2 separate regions of the Homo sapiens genome follow, and region 1 is linked to region 2. Evidence: promoter capture Hi-C in 16 types of primary human blood cells and fetal thymus (Javierre and others, 2016). All regions are on one chromosome and are shown on one strand. The core of a region is centred on a gene start or on the middle of the fragment in contact, and the rest is flanking DNA. Distances in the headings are between cores, read along the strand shown. Region 1 overlaps ADPGK-AS1 (ADPGK antisense RNA 1). Region 2 holds the start of HIGD2B (HIG1 hypoxia inducible domain family member 2B).

What was found. Contacts are between HindIII fragments. The CHiCAGO score rates a contact against its expected background, and 5 or more counts as called.
Region 1: a contact is called between a fragment that was not itself captured here and the fragment with the promoter of HIGD2B in region 2, in 1 of 17 cell types (fetal thymus). The highest score is 5.4, in fetal thymus.

The regions. Positions count from the first base shown.
Region 1 is chr15:72,784,698-72,789,290 of GRCh38, reverse strand. ADPGK-AS1 (ADPGK antisense RNA 1) reads right to left here. Exons shown (of 3, transcript NR_040107.1): 1 at 4,095-4,593; 2 at 1,698-1,869. Among named protein-coding and RNA genes, the nearest start is that of ADPGK, 3.2 kb to the right of the region's middle. The HindIII fragment of the contact is 1,069 bases long and covers 2,693-3,761 here.
Region 2 is chr15:72,683,299-72,687,999 of GRCh38, reverse strand. HIGD2B (HIG1 hypoxia inducible domain family member 2B) reads left to right here and starts at 1,818. Exons shown (of 3, transcript NM_001350932.3): 1 at 1,818-2,182. BBS4 (Bardet-Biedl syndrome 4) reads right to left here and starts at 1,793. Exons shown (of 16, transcript NM_033028.5): 1 at 1,749-1,793. The coding sequence starts at 1,772. The HindIII fragment of the contact is 12,662 bases long and covers 1,369-4,701 here.

The sequences.
Region 1 (4,593 bases), core at 1,978-4,477, 100 kb before region 2:
TTCTTGCATGAGATCCAAGAACCCTCTCTTGGCGTCTGGATCTGGACCCCTTTCCTGTAACAGTTTCAGGGTGTATACATATATTAAACTTATTAATTTGTATACTTTAAATATTATGCACTTAATGCATATCAATTTTACTTCAATAAGCATACTAAAAATATTAAGTGCCTAGTAATAAAACTTACTAAAGACATACAAATCCTCCACAAAAAGTCTAATATGATATTGGGAGACATTTAGGTAGATCTAAATAAATGAAGGGATCTACCATAGTCCTAGAATGATAAAAATCCTAATTGGGTTTTTTTGGGAGGGAGGGCGACAAGTTGATTCAAAAATGTATATGGGAATTTTAAAAGGCCAAAGATAGCCAAGACACTCTTGAAGAGTAAGGAGAAAGAATTTATATTAACAGATATCAAGACAGTGAGACGCTGATAAACAAATAGACCAATGGAACAGATTGAAGAGCCCCAAAACAGATCCACACATACATAGACACGTGGTATTGGACAGAGGTGGGAATGCAGAGTCATTGAGAAATGACCAGTAAAAGGCACTGGGTCAATTGGGTATCTATAAGCATTCTTCTCACAACACACAAAAATCAATTCCAAGGTAGATTAAATACCTAAACATGAAATGTGAAAGCCTACAGCTCTTAGAAGGTTGTACAGGAAAATACCATCACGATCCTGAGTATGGGAAGATTTTTTAAATAAGTAACAAAAAGCACCAATGATAAGGGGAAAGTAGTAATAAAAAAAGAACAAAACGGTAACTACACTAAAAACGAAGAACTTTAAGCCTGCGCATGGTAGCTCACAACTGTATTCCTAGCACCTTGGGAGGCCAAGGCAGGAGGATCTCTCGAGGTCAGGAATTCAAAACCATCCTGGGCAACACAGAGAGACCCTATCTCTACAAAAATACATAAATAAGAATAATTTTTCATAGAACTCTACTCACTAAAGATATTATAAAAAGAATGAATAGACAAGTGACTGGGAGGGAGGCAAGATACTTGCAAATAACCAACAAATGGAAACTTGTCAAAACCACAGTAAGATACCACTACACACCCTACAAAATGACAAAGCTTTAAGAATCTGTTGGAGTGTAGCTGGAGCAACAGAAATTCTCATATGCTGCCAGTGGGAAGATAAACTGGCATACCACTTTGGAAAGATGTCAGATATTATATAGTAAAGTTGAAGACAGGCATATCATATGACCCAGAAATGTTACTTTGTTTCTACCCTGAAGAAATGGCTATACACGTGTACCACAGCATATACATAGCAACACTGTATGTAATAGTAAAAAAACTGGGAAAACTCCAAATCGTCTATTCATAGTACAATAGATAAATTTTAGTATTTTCATTCAGTGGGATATTACATAGATGCTAAGCCGTCAAAAAATAGAAAAGGCTACTGCATAGTGACCTATGCAGAAATGGCTGTCTTCCTTATAGTAAGAGAGTGACAGACCAGCAAGAAAGACTAAAAAGAAAATTAAATATAGCTCTCAGAACCAACCATAGCAACAGCAGGGAATGTTTTGAATTCCAGCATGTAGCAGACACTGTGCTAGACTGTCTTAAGATAACTCTACCTCCCACAACCATTCTGCAAAGTAGGAATTATTTTGCATATAAGGAAACTGAAGAACAGAAAAGTTAAATGACTTACCTGAGGGCACACAGATAGCAGGTGACAGAGTGAAGATTTGCAGCCAGGAATCAAATCCCACCTTCTTTCCATTGAAGTATGAACTGTTGATTGCAGCAACCATTCACCACCCCTCCCTTCATCCAGAACCCTGATTTTGTTAAGATGTACTGCCTCTTCCGTGCTGTCCACCCTAGGGATGGCAGAGCAAAAGACAGAACAAGCATGGGCCCCTGAGGACTCTCTCTGGCAATGCTGCCAGGCCATCCCAGTTAGATGTTTTTGCTTCCTTTTATTTATTTTTCCTTTATTTTAGTTTTAGGCCCAGTGGTTGTAGAACTGCTAGGGTTCTTGAATCAAAAAGAAAATGTAGTTAGAAGGCAAACTTCCCATTTCCTTCCAAACCATTGCAAGTAATACTGAAACCCAAACCAGATCACTACAGCAGATGCTACAAGGGCTACAACAGGACTGGTTTACGCAGCCTGCAGAAGAGAACCCAAGCAGGAAGGCCTGTGAGTGTAAAGGGCTCCAGCAGGCAGCCTGGTAGCAGTGTTCCGGGAAGCCTGAGATGGCTAAGAGCACTGTGAGGGTGGAGGCCTCTGCTTTATCCTGCCCCGATTCATTCGCCCTATGAAGCTCATAGGTCCCTGCCAGACAGAAGCCCACACAGTCCTGTGCCTCCTGCCTTTCTAGGCTCAGCGCTTCTTCCTGGTCCAAAGCAGTTAATTTCCAAAGTGAAAATTCCGGGCCACTATGTTGTCACATCCCCTCAAGCTACAACCCGGTTCCCAGTCTGTGTAGGAAGTTCTATTACTATCAAGAAACTCTCATGTTCTTCTTACTGCTTTGCTGCTGACGTTCCTCTCATCTGGCTCCTGTGCCTCAACACCCCTGCCTCTCCCCTGCACTGGCCAGAGGCAGTCCATCCTCTGAGCACTTCTAGTCCCCTCCTGACCTCACATTAGTGAGGAGGATGTCTGATTGCCAAGGGCTATGGCTACAGACACAAAGCTTTCTCTTTTCGGGGGCTGGGATCCTTTATTCCATCTCTTCAATCTCTTTGGAGTTTTCTGTAATCTTCAAAATTGTGCTCTGACTCTGGCCTTTGGGCATGGCCTGTGGTGGGCTGTGTCCCTGGCATCAACAAAGGCTTTGACACAGTGTGGCCTTCAAAGAGCAGCTTGGATGAAACCCCAGAGGCCTGGAGCTGCAAGGAAAGTGGGTTAGCCCAGCTTTCACAGGGACCATTTGGTCCCACTTTAGTTTCTGCTCCACGTGGGAACAAATGTGCCCCTTAAGGCCTTTCAGATTGCGGGGGTGACGCTGATGGGTATTTATGTTAAAGCCAAAACCTTCAGCTAATTTGGAAGCTGACAGGATTCTGCTAATTCTTTGTGTTCATACAGGATCTGCTCCCTGGCCTTCCAGGTCAGGATCTTGGGTGGGGCACCTGGAGCCTCCATTTGCCTCTGAATTTTCTAGAACCAAATTGCTTTTCTTCTCTCATTTCAAGGTCCTAGGAGAGAGAACCAATAGGAAAGGCCATGTCTGGAAGCAATTTGGGTGGGGGCGGGGGGTGTCTTGAGGCCTGCCCAGCCCAGCCCTTTCCTCTTTGTTCAGCCTAGGCAAAGGAGCCACAGCTGCCCACTCAGAGCTGTTTTAATTGTCCCCAGAAACCTAACTTCTAGAAAAACAATTGGCTTGCAAAGGATTCCAGACTCTCTGAACAGATAGATGATCAGAATCTTTTCTGATTTTCGTTAAGGAAATATTTCAAGAGGGACTGTGGCACCAAGACAGTGAATGCCTGCCCCTGAGCCCCGATGAGAAGGAATTAAGGGCCCTGTGACTCTGTATGTGACCAGAAGCCACATCAGGCTCCGCCAGGCCTGGCAACTGTCCCTGGTGTTCTGTTCTTCACCTCCTGCGGCTCCTGACTCTTCAGTTCTCAGTTGGAATTGAGGTCAGCTCTCTCGTTTCCTTGTCTGGCCCCCTTCACCACCCACAATGCAAACCCACACTGAGTGACTAACCAGCAAGAGGCCCACAGCAGGTCCCATAGCAACCAGAGGGGGCCAAGCTTGCTACCACAGCCCACAACATGCCAACACCCCATTTAGACTTTTACATGAGAAATAAACATCCACTTTGTTCAACTGCTGTTGTTTTGTCTCTGTGACTAAATCAACAATTCTGGCAAATCTAGAAAGAAGCAGAAGAATTAGGTGCAAAGTGCTGGAAGTTTAGCAGCCTCTCGTGGGAGCAAGAAAGCCCCAGGCAGGTTTCTGTCCACATCACTTTAATGTGGAGCACTCTCCTAGTCCTCTAGATCTGTCTGTTCTATCACCTTCCCACAGTTCAGCTTCCTGTGCTCCCCAAAACTTCACCTTGGAAACATATTTAACTGGTTCTGACCTTTAGCCTTGTGTGACTTTGTGGGTCCACAGCCAATATCAAATAACTACAGACAACAGAAACTTGGTTAAAATTCTCAATAGAGGGAAATGATCGCTGGACAGTCAGCAGACTCGCTGTTTTCAGGTCAGCTGCTGGCTCAGTCCCCTCTGGGTGCCAGGGAAACCTGACAGCTGAGGGTTGTGAGAAGAAGCAGTTTCTCTAGGAACTGACTGACATGTCTCCCTAAGGAGAGAGAAGTGACAGGCAACTCTAGGGAAGATGGCTTTCATGGCTTCATAAAGATCTGACTGGCTCTTTGGCTTCTTTTCCAAGGTAGCCCAAATCTGTTCCTGTGTGAATATCTTTGTCGAAAGGGATGGCATGGTCAGGTAGGCTGGGTAGGATGAACTGCGGGAAGGTAGATGACCAGGATGGGGAAGTTCTGATGAGGTGGGGCTGAGGAGAATGAAGACTAATGCCCAAGATCAAAGTTAGGGAAATAAAGTTTCGCTGCCAA
Region 2 (4,701 bases), core at 569-3,068:
TTTCCTATGTTTTTAATATTTAAAACCCAGTAACATTAACCATGCTATTTACTTTTTTTTTTTTTCTGAGACGGAGTTTTGCTCTGGATGCCCAGGCTGCAGTGAAATGGCACGATCTCGGCTCACTGCAACCTCTGCCTCCTGGGTTCTAAGCGATTCTCCTGCCTCAGCCTCCCTAGTAGCTGGGATTACCAGCGCCCGCCACCACGTCCAGCTAATTTTTTGTATTTTTTTAGTAGGGACAGGGTTTCACTACGTTGGCCAGGCTGGTCTCGAACTCCTGACCTCAGGCGATCCACCCACCTCAGCCTCCCAAGGTGCTAGGATTACAGGCGTGAGCCACTGAGCCTGGCCTATTTAATTATTTTAAAATCTGTTTTTTCTTTCTTTTTTTTTGAGAAGGAGTCTGTCTCTGTCGCTCATGCTGGAGTGCAATGGCATGATCTCGGCTCACTGCAACCTCCGCCTCCGGGGTTCAAGCGATTCTCCTGCCTCAGCCTTCCAGGTACCTGGGATTACAGGCGAGCGCCACGATGCCCCGCTAATTTTTGTATTTTTAGTAGAGACGGGGTTTCACCATGTTGGCCAGGATGGTCTCAAACTCATGACCTCAAGTGATCCACCCGTCTCGGCCTCCCAAAGTGCTGGGATTACAGGCGTGATGCACCGCGTCCGGCCTAGCTATTTTAAATTTCTTAGCTTAATAAAAATGTTTCGGCCGGGCGTGGTGGCAGGCGCCTGTATTCTCAGCTAATCCGGAGGCTGAGGCAGGAGAATTGCTGGAACCTGGGAGGCGGAGGTTGCAGTGAGCCGAGATCGCGCCATTGCACTCCAGCCCGGGCCGACAACAGCGACACTCCGTCTCAAAAAAAAAAGTTTCTGTCTTCAGAGTTTTCTAATTAGACTAGAATAATATGACTACTCTGCAAATGAGAGTAGAAAACAAACAAAAGGCCCTCTAACAATAACACTAACCTTGCTGCTTAGCCAAAACTAAGTTGTAAAACAGCCAAAGGCTGCTATTTGTACTGTTTTCCAGGGCGTTTTTCGAAAGACAATAAATTCCGAATACCTAAAATCATTCTAACAAATGGACAGAACAGGCTTTCAAACCCAACACTAAAGCAAGGTAAACAAAGCTTCACACTTGGCACTTTACCGAAATTAGATCCAATTATAGATATATGCCTCAAAAAATAGCGACTAGGTCATCCTGAATTCATCGGGTTCCTCTATATTAGCAGTTCTGTGGAGTGAACGCCCAACTCAGCCTTCAGATGAATTCCAAAACCGTACTTTCCTAAACTTAATCACCACAGAAAAAACACAGTCCCGCTCCACTGGCAGAAGGCAGTGACGCTGCAAGCTTCCAGGCATGTTAAATTCCCAATTCACGGGATTAACAGGAACTGTCTACACAAGTGCTAGTCATTACCTTCCAAACCCCCGAGACAGAAAAAGATGGCACTACGGTAAGAGCCATTACTGGTGAAAAGTCTCCCTTCTCCGTCCAGCGCACCCCAAGAGGGACTACAGTCCTAGAACAGGACCTGTGCTGCTAAGTATCCAGACTTGCCCCAGGCGACCAGTTCCCGGGACAGTAAAAAGGGGACCGTGTCGCCCCGCCCACCCTGAGACGCTCGGCACCCAGCTCCGCCTCTCTCCAGGAACCGCTGCATGGGACAAAAGCCACCCGCCAGCTTGCCTTGCCCTGCGGCCGGGCAACTAAAGAGAATCTCGGCGCTCACCGTCGCGACTCTCTCCTCAGCCATTTTAGCTCAGCCCACCGCTGCGCGGCCGGAAGTCGGCGGTTTCCCAGACGACGAGGCAAGCGGAAGTCGTAGGGCTGTGGAGGACTGTGAGGAAGCGGGGGAAGGAAGTAAATCGCCGAGTGACCTAAGGAATCAGGGGGAGGATTAGGGTCTGCTCCACAGAAGGCTTACCTCTGAAAGAGTCGGGGAGGGAATGCGCAGCCACTCGCTGCCTTTATCCCGAGAAGCCCCTAACACCCCTCGCCGTGGTCTGTACATGGTCTGTACCTCCGGCCGCGCTGGCTGGTAGGCCAGCCACCTGGGATGGCAGCCTAGTTCTCCCGCCACCTTACCCTGCCCTGACTCTAATCTGCATTTAATTCAGTCCTTCTTCCGGGAGATTTCGGCGGAGAATTTCTTTCTCGCCTTAGGTACAAAACTCCCCGTTTCTTGGCTGTCACTATCGAACTGAGGTACTCACCTTATCAGCTTCCCACTCTTGTTTACTCCAGAGTTTGCAAACATGCTCCTGGTGGGCTGCATTTGAACGGCAGTCTTTTGATTGGAAATATTTAAAAGTTAGGAGATTTCACAAGAAATCGGCCATGGGATAAAGAGACGACAGTCGGCGTTTTCTGCAAGGCAGTGAAATAGATCTGAATAGCGGCTGCGACTGTAGATAACTTCCCTTCCTAACATACTTAAGGCGTTCTCCATTACCTGTCTGGCCCCCGGTGCGGTGAATTAAATGTTTAGTGTTTCTAAACTAGGAAAACGTGTGGGCTTTGGAATCAAACATGAGTTCTGAATTTGACTACTGCATGACCTAAGCCCGTCGTTTCTTTGAGCCTCATTTATTAAAGTGCCGGGAGCTGTGTGATGAACAAAACGGAGGATCCCTGCACCTGAGCACTGACATTAGCCCCAATTCATACTTTTAAGTCTCGCCCTTGTAATTTAGACATAAAATCTGCCTCTCCCAATTCATTAACTGGGAAAGCATTTAAGACAAGTTTCTCCAGGCCTCTAAGAGAGGGAGAACCCCACTGACAATTAGAGTTACATAGAAGAAACAAGTACGGTAATCTATCCAAATACAAGGGGAAAGGACAGCAATAGAATAACAGCTCTTCTAAGTATTTCAGTAACACTCTCTCTTTTAATCTTTATAACAATCCCATGAGACTGTTGGTCTCCCACTTTTTTCAGATAAATACTCTGCCTTTCATTTATTAAAAATAAAATTTTCCAGCTTGGCCAGCATGGTGAAACCCCGTCTCTACTAAAAATACAAAAAATTAGTCGGGCATGGTGGTGCCCGCCTGTAATCGCAGCTACTCGGGAGGCTGAGTCAGGAGAATCACTTGAACCCAAGCGGCAGAGGTTGCAGTGAGCCGAGATCGCATTTCTGTGCTCCAGCCTGGGCGATAGAGGGAGACTCCGTCTAAAAAACAAAAATTTGCTGGGCTCGGTGGCTCACGCCTGTAATCCCAGGACTTTGTGAGGCTGAGGTGGGCAGATCACCTGAGGTCAGGAGTTCAAGACCAGCCTGGCCAACATGGTGTAACCCTGTCTCTACTAAAAATACAAAAAATTATCCGGGCGTGGTGGCCGGCTCCTGTAATCCCAGCTACTAGGGAAGCTGAGGCAGGAGAATTGCTTGAATCCAGGAGGTGGAAGTTACAGTGAGCTGAGATCATCCCATTGCACTCCAGCCTGGGCAACAAGAGCAAAACTCTGTCTCAAAAAAATTTTTTTTCAGAGGCAGGGGTCTCACTATTGATGTCCAGACTGGACTTGAACTCCTAGGCTCAAGTAATCCTCCTGAGGCAGGAAAATAGGGTCTGGAGGTAGGGAACATAAGGCCAATTCACACTTCAGCTATAACAGGTAATATTCTGTCCATAGGGCATAGGCCATAAATGTCTTTGTAACTTTACTTCATCTTCTCTATTTACATAAGGCATACCCGAAGTAACCATGGAATCCTCTGGGGTTATTTAAACTCCCCAAAATTCTGTAACGGAGCCACTGAACTTCTAAGCTCAGGCCCGCTCCCACACTGGAGTGTACTTTCATGTTCAGTAAATTCCTTGTCCCTTCCTTGCTTTGTTTGTGCATTTTGTCCAATTCTTTTTTCAAGACACCAAGAACCTGGACACCCTCCACCTTTAACACTTCCACCTCATCCTCTCAAGTAGCTAGGATTACAGGCACCAGTCACCATGCCTGGTGCTAAATTCTCCACTTTTCAGAGATTAATTAAACACCTTGCCTAAGTGAGCCGAGATCGTGCCACTGCACTCCAGCCTGGGAGACAGAGCAAGACTGTCTCAAAAAAAAAAAAAAAGATATAAAGATGAAAAATTATTAATTTCTAATCCACAGTGCTTAGTTTTTTTGTTTTTGGGACAGGATCTCGCTCTGTTGCCCAGGCGGAAGTGCAGTGGGACAATCACGGCTCACTGCAGCCTCTACCTCCCAGGCTCAAGTGATCCTCCCACCTCAGCCTCCTGAGTAGCTGGGACTACAGCTTCATGCCACCACACCCAGCTAATTTTTGTATCTTTTGTAAAGATGGGGTTTCATCATGTTACCTAGGCTGGTCTCAAGCTCCTGAGCTCAAGCAATCCAGCCAACTTGGCCTCCCAAAGTGTGGAATTACAGGCGTGAGCCACCCCGCCCAACCCACAGCGCTTAGTTTCATGCAGTTTTTCAGTATTCCAGTCCTCTTCATGGGCGGGGTTACTACGCAACACTGGCAGTCTAGGAAGAAATCATTCCAAAGGATCAAAAAAAAAAAAAAAAAAGGAGGAATTGAAGCTAATATCTTCTGCCCTATTCTTTTTATCTTCTACCCTATTTTTTCTTTTAACACATATTCTTTTTGCCACTTTCAAAAGACTGATTCTCAATCTGACATGTCACTCCCTGTTCTCTTCAGTTACCC